Linked DNA regions of Homo sapiens: region 2 is linked to region 1. Evidence: promoter capture Hi-C in 16 types of primary human blood cells and fetal thymus (Javierre and others, 2016). All regions are on one chromosome and are shown on one strand. Each heading gives the region's core, a stretch centred on a gene start or on the middle of the fragment in contact. The rest is flanking DNA. Distances are from core to core; before and after follow the strand shown.

Evidence for each region. Contacts are between HindIII fragments. The CHiCAGO score rates a contact against its expected background, and 5 or more counts as called.
Region 2: a contact is called between a fragment that was not itself captured here and the fragment with the promoter of BRD7 in region 1, in 3 of 17 cell types (neutrophils, naive B cells and monocytes). The highest score is 6.0, in neutrophils.

The regions. Positions count from the first base shown.
Region 1 is chr16:50,367,693-50,371,006 of GRCh38, forward strand. It overlaps BRD7 (bromodomain containing 7), which reads right to left and starts at 1,296. Exons shown (of 17, transcript NM_013263.5): 1 at 1,034-1,296; 2 at 398-606. The coding sequence starts at 1,082. RefSeq lists silencers at 685-1,194, 1,225-1,474. The HindIII fragment of the contact is 8,339 bases long and covers 1-2,204 here.
Region 2 is chr16:49,854,844-49,858,443 of GRCh38, forward strand. ZNF423 (zinc finger protein 423) reads right to left here and starts at 1,269. Exons shown (of 8, transcript NM_001379286.1): 1 at 892-1,269. The coding sequence starts at 931. RefSeq lists a silencer at 513-772. The HindIII fragment of the contact is 5,566 bases long and covers 1-3,600 here.

The sequences.
Region 1 (3,314 bases), core at 46-2,545:
GCATTATAATATTTATTTCAGAACAAACTTTAAACCCCAGTAGATCCCACTCGCTTCTGAAATGACTATTTTTGACAATCCTTGAACACTGAGGCTTTCTTGAGCATGACTTTTTACCCTGCCTAGATGGAAAAACCATTCTTTGAAGCAGCTCCTCAAAATTTGGACTTAGCTGCTTCCTCACCTGATGTGCGAGTACAATTGCCTAAGAGTATAATCCAAAAACGACTTGCTGAAACTCATAGATGATTCATGTCTCTATTCTGTCCTGCTCCTCCTCAAACGAGCCAGATCTTAGAGGCGTTTGTTTTCCCCAGATACAAAGAAAATAAAATGAGGTTGGCACCTGGAAGAGGCAGTGCCGTCCGCAAAGCCAAAGCAATGTAACCACTTGTACCTTAACTCTTCTCCGTTTTCTCCCCTTTTCTTCCCCTGGAATCTGCTTCTCTCCTTTCTTTCTCTTTTTCCGCTTTCTGTCCTTGTGTTTGTCATGATCGTTTTTGTCTTCGAAGAGGCTGGAGTCGTGCCCCGAGCTGCCCGTGGAGAGTTCGGTGACTTCGTTCCCTCCTACTTTGAGGACCAGCTTCAAGGGCTTCTCTACATACTCTTAAAAAAAGAAAAGAAAAGAAAGGAAAGCGCGTCGATTAAAATCGGGGCTCTCCAGGGAGTGCTAAGGATGCAGAGCGCCAAGGCGCAGCAAGCCCGAGGCGGCTTTGGGCGCTCCGCGAAGCACCTGTTGAATGACGGACCCCGGCCCGGGGGTGCGGCGGCGCCGCCCGCCCCGAACGCTCCCAGGCCTCCCGGGCCCGCCTCACGTCTCCCCACCAGAGACCCACCGGACCAGGGGGACCCGGGTTCGAATGCCGCGGCCGCACGGGGGGCAGCGCGGCCTCCGGCAGGACGCGCCCCCTTCGCCGGCCTGGGCCTGCCGTGGGAAGGAAGGGCCCCGGGCCGCCCCGGAGCCACTGGGAAAGAGCGGAAGCCCGGCAGAGCCGCCGAGGGCCCGCCGCCCGCACCCCGGCCCCCTCCTCACCCTCGTAGAGGTGTTTGTCCGACTTGTGCTTCTTGTGCTTCTTGCCCATGTCCGACCGGGCCCCGGTGCCCGCCCCCCGCGCCAGGCCCAGGCCGTGCGGCGCCGCTTCCGGTCCGGGCCAGGCGAGCGGAGGGCGGGAGCGGGGCCCGCGAGACCCCGCGCCGCGAGGCAGGGGGGCGGCGCGCGCCGGGCGGCGCGATGCCCCTCTCGAGAAGACGGCGCGCGAGACCCGGCCGGAGCCCGAGAGCGGCGGCGGGGGGGGCGCGCGGCCGGCGCAGAGGCGGGAAAGAAGGCCCGCCGCGCGCACAGGGTGCCGGCGGCTGCGGGTGGCGGCCCCTGGCGACCGGAGGTGGTGCTGCAGCTCGCGGGCCGGGGGCGGGGCCGAGGGCGGGGCCGGGGCGGGATCCACCGCTCAGACTCTCGTCTTTCTTCCTTCCTCCCTTTCCCCTCAATTTGTCTGTCTTGTCTCTGTCTCTGTGTGTCTCTCCCTCCGTCTCCACTTCCCTCCCTTCTTTTTACTCCCTCCCTCTCTTTCTTTCTCTTTCCCTTCTTCCCTTCCTTCCTCCTTCCTTCCTTTCTTTCTTCCCTCCTTACTGCCTCCCTTCAAGCCTTCCTTCTCTCTTTTCTTCCTCCCTCATCACCCTTCCTTCTCCTCTTCCCGTCTCCTTCCCTCTTTTTTTCTTTTCTTTTTTTCCCCTTCCTCCTTCCCCCACTCTTCCTTTCTTTCCACTTTCCCTTGCTTCTGTTTCTTCCCTTTTACGATATTGACTGAACCCCATACTGGGTGCCAGACCCAGCAAACTCAGCACATTGGTGACTGAAGATTCTAATCTTAAAAAAAACTTATGTGCTGATAGGTGAAGGTTACCAGACGTTTTGACTGTCTTTACTTCTAGCTGTATGGTGCTTTGTCTGTTTTCAGATAAGCTCGTAATTATAGTCTCCTCTTAAGAAAGGATCTGTTATCAGTCATTTATACTTTAGTAACAATTTAGACCCATGAATCACCTCTCCCAGGAAGATTTGTAGCTTTACCTTGAACTTCAGTGGTGAAATTATAGGCTTATATTTTAGGACCCTATTGTTGGCAACTAATAGAAACCAATTTGAATTATTTCAAGTAAATAAAAAGGGATTTATTGGTTTACATGTCTAGAAAGGGCAAGAATAAAGCTTGCCAGAGGGAAGACAGGAACCAAGGATGTAATGCTGTTGACTGGCATGCCAGCTCGCTCTCTCTCTTGTCTCTCTGTATATCGGTCTCCATCTCCCCCCTTCTTTCCTATATGGCTGGAAACATGGCCACCATCTGCTTCTGAGGCCTCTTCTTTATAGTGTCCTGACCAACTGGGAAAAAGATCTCTTCCTGTCAGCTTCACCTGGAAAACAGTCCCAGGGAAGGACTCTGATTGGCTTGGCTTGTGTCACATGTTTTATGGGACAGGGGATGGGAGATTGATTCGGCCTGGATGCCAAATCTACCCCCTCACCCCCTTGGCCAAGAGAAGTGGAGTCTGTGATTGGCAGCTCCTGCCAGACTTCTATGGTTAGCCAGGGAAGATGAGGTTCTTCTAATGAAGAGAGTTGCTTTTTCATGAAAGCTAAAAGTGTGTGTCTATTATTTCCCTGTAACAAGCCTCTCTGGTGTCCGTGAGGCAGAGATCAGGGTGTGGGAAGAGGGGTTGTGTTGGGGAAGAGACCTTCTGCTGCTCTGAAATCAAGCCAGCTAGGCCCCCTAGGCCCCCTAAGCATAGGGCAAAGCTTGGTTTCAGCTTTTCATCCACTGTCTGTAACTTATTTTGCTTTAAGAACCACTATGCCAACTCCCACTGTGGGTCTGGCCTCTATTGTGGCATTGCCTTGCTCCAGGCTCAACCTGTGGGTTTACCTGTCTGCTCCTCATTACCCTGGGTACCTCCTTGGTACTTACAGTGCCTAGCACAGTGACTACTACTGTCCAAATGCCCCTCAGAGGAAAAAGGTCTGGTGAACTCATCCATACTATCAAGTTAGTAATTTCCCTACCCTCTCAAGAGTGATTCTACATAGGTCACAAAGTGGTCACATCAATGGAAAGTGAATAAGAGTACGTAGCAGAAAACACCTCCCAGAAAAATGTTCCTGGAAGTGGAAGCCCAAATTCATCTAGTTTTAAATTCTCAGCACTAATACCATGCCTGGCACATAGAAGGCACCAGAAAATGCTAGTTGAGCTGCACGGTCCTGGTTCGGGCAGACTCCCCTGAGAGATTTCTGCCTGCTGCCATTCATGACCTCCCAG
Region 2 (3,600 bases), core at 578-3,077, 510 kb before region 1:
ATATCTGCAGCTCCCCACAAACGCGCGCACCCCGGGGAGCCAGCACAGAAAGCCGGCCTGGGTGTCGAGGGTGCCGGTGCCCGGGGTCAGATCCAGGGTGCCGGTGCCCGGGGTCAGATCCGGGGCGCCCTCCGCGGAGGGGCGCGCACCGCGGCCGCTGAGCTCCCCTGAGGACCTGCGTCCCGCCGGCGCCGTGCAGACAATGAACTCCTGGCGGAGGCTCCCTGCCCGGTGGGCCTCGGTGGAGGAGGCAGGAAGTGCAGGGGCCCGGGCCGGGAGAAGGCCTGGGCAGGGGCGGGAGGGGGCGCCAGGCGGCCGGGGCGAGGGCGCGGCGCCCGGGGCGCTCGCCGACAGCGCCCGCCGCTCCCCGCGTCCTCGGGCGACCAGGCAGGGGCCAGAGAGAGCCAGCGAGGCCCGGGGCCAGCGAGGAGCGGTCGGCCTGCCGGGCGCCCGTCCTCGCCGCCTCTTCCTTCCTCCTGTCGCCCGCCCGCCGCCGCCGAGATTCGCAATCCCCGCCAAGTCGGGCCAGCACCCCTTGATTGGCCACACGGGCCCGGGCCCCGCACGGAGGGAGCGGCAAGGGCCCCTTAGCGGCGCCCCCAGGCCTGGGTCCCCCAAGGGCGACGGCGCCGAGTCCGGGCAGGGAGGGTGTCCGCGGCGTACCCCCTCCGCCGCCGCCGCCGCCGCCGCCGCCTCCGCCTCCTGCTCCCGGCTTCCTCCTCCCCCTCCTCCGCCTCCGCCTCCGCCTCCGCCTCCTCTGCCGCCTCCTCCTCCTCCTCTCGGCTCGCTCGCGCGGGTCCCCGGCAGCCAGCCCGCTCGCCGGTCCCTCCTCCCTCGCTCCCTCCCTCCTCGCTCGCTCGCTCGCGCCTCCGCCGGGCCTCGCTCGCTCACCTTTCACCGAGCGCGGCTTCGCCTGCTTCCGCCTGGACATGTCCGGGGCTCCGGGCGCTCCGTCGCCCTCCGCAGCCGGCTCCCCCCGCCGCCCCCCGCCGCTCCGGGCAGCCCTTCTCCCCCTTCTCCTCCGCCTGTCTCTTGGAAACTTTTTTTTTTGCAGCCCGGTTGGCGGCTGTGGGGAGCGGACCGCAGGTCCGGGGCGGCCTCCCTTGGGGGGGCAGCCCGGGCCGGCCGAGGCCGCTCGAAGGCGGGGGGAGGCCCGGGGGGCGCGCCGGGGCCCTGCCTGTTGCAATGCGGCAGTCCGGGGCTCCCGATCCAAGCGGCGGTCCCAGCGGCGCGGGGAGTCCGGAGGCCACTCGGCCGAGCCGAGTTATGCAAAAAAAAAAAAAAAAAAAAAAAAAAAAAAGCCGCCCCCCTCCTCCTCCCAACCCCCCGCCGGCCCCCGGCCCCTGCGGCCCCCTCCTTCCCTCCCCCACCCTACCGCCACCCTCACCCTCCTCCTCCTTCTCCTCCTCCTCCGCCCCTTGCCGGATTTTTGTGCAAAGTTTGCAGGCGTCCGGCCACGCAGCCCGGTGCGGAGCTCACAATGAACCCATCTGAGGAGGGGGAACGGGGCTGGAGTCGAGGGTATCTCAAGGGGGGAGGAGACCGGGAGGCGGTCGGGAGCGCGGAAGCTCAGTACCCCCCAGGAAAAAAAAAAAAAAGAAGCCTTCGAATTATCCCCTGCCGCACAAAAAAAAATAATAAATATTAATGGCTCAAAAATGCCCAAGCGCCTGGTTTGGAGATTATGATGGATGGGGGGCGGGGGTCCCTCAACTCAGCCTACTTGGAGGGGAGGCTCGAAACGGCCGCAGTGGCTCGGAAGCCGCGGCTCGGGGCCCCTGGCTCACGCCCCCTTCTCTGGCTCTCGGATCGGCCCGGCGCCGGCCCCCCGGAGGAGGAAGGGGCGCGCGGGGGCGCTCAGGCGGCGGCCGGCAGGCGCGCCCGTGCCCCGGGCATCGCTCAGCCCGTGCGCCGGGCCGCCGCTGCCTGCCCTCGGGCTGCGGTGCTCAGCGCGAGGCGCGCAGCCGATCCCCAGGCCGGTGCCAAGTCGCCGGCCCCGCTAGCTGCCTCCATGGGCCAGGGGCTCGGAGAGGGGGGAGGCGGCGGCCGCGGTGGCGGAAGAGGAGGACGAGCAGGCGGCGGCGGCGGCGGCCGGGCTCCCGTCCTCCTGGGCAGCGGCGGCGGCGGCTGCGCCCCGGCTCCTCCGCGCTCCAGCCGGCGCCGGCCCGCCCGCCAGCCTCCCTCGCGCTCCTGTCTTCTTTGTGGTCGCTGGCTCTCCTCCTCCCGATCCGGCTGCTGGGGCTGCACTGCAGAGACACATAATAAAGCCAGGCTTGGCTGGAAATGTAGCCGGGTCCCAGCAGGAGGATGTGAGGAGCGGAGTCCCGGCGGGGGAGCGCTCTGATCCCGTGGGGCGCCCCGCACTGCTCCGGCTCGGATCAGACGGAGAGAGGGCCAACAGCACCGAGCGATGGACAGCGCTGGAAATACAGCTCCGGCCGCCCGCAAAACCCGGACCGTGGTGGCGGCGGCGGCGGCGGCGGCAGGCACGGCGCGGGCGCGGGCACCGCACCAGCACGCGGGGCCGGGGCTCGGGCGCTGGCTGCACCGGGGGCAGGAGGAGGGAACACACTTAGGGCCCACGCGGCTGTCAAGCTCGCCAAGACGCATGAGCCTCACAAACTGTAAAAAGTGAAAGAATGGGGGAGCAAACGGAGTTGGGCTGCCCTAGTATTGCCACCTCGCGATGTATGCCTCACGCACATGAACTATCCAGGGACCTGGCTCTGCCAGGTTGGCTTTTGCCCACCGGTCGGTGTTCAAAGACCACCCCTGCCCCACATCCAACAAATTCTTCCACCACTGGGCTAACCCCGTGCGCCCCCTACACCCTTATTTGTAGAATTCTCGCGCCTGGTGTGCACTTCCTCTGTCCGACTGTAAAAGGAACACCTTACCCCTGAGACCTTGCAGGAGCACCCCCTCCCCGCGCAGTTGTCAGAAGAAATAAACCAGCTGCTACTTTCTGCGAGGTTTTACCCAGCCGCCAGGGGGCGCCGCGCGTCCCCCGCAGCTCCTGAACCGGCTGAGACTCTGGTCTCCGGGCAGGCCCGGGAAGGGTTCTGACTTGGGAAAAGTCTTCCCCAGACGGCTCCCCTAAACCGTTCCTCGGAGCCTCTCCCTCCCCAACTAGCTGCAGGCGGCCAGGTCTCGGGTGGGGAGCGGCCCCGACCTCGCCCCCCTCCCGGGTGAGTGGCGCCACCTTGGGCCGGCGCGCCCCGGAGCCAGGAGAACGGAGCGGGTGCACGGCGCGGCGCTGGGGGTTATCAATCTCTCGGATCGATAAGTTGCCACTTGGAGAGGGGAGGGCTACGTCCCCTCGGAGACGAGTTACCCAGGGCAACCTTTCACGGAAAAACCCGCTGCCCGCCGAGAACAGCGCCGGGGCCGGCCGGGCCGCGGCGCCCGCCCCACGCAGGGTGCCCGCGCCCCGCCGCTCCCCAGCCTGCCGGCCAGCCGGGCCCGGCCCCGCTCAGCTCTCTCCGCGGTCCCGCCGGGCCCTGCTCGCCAACCCCGTGCTGGGCTGATTGCCGAGGTAGATGCCACCCACGCACCCCCGCGGCTGGGGAGCGCGAGCTGGAGGATGCGGAGAGGCCTGAG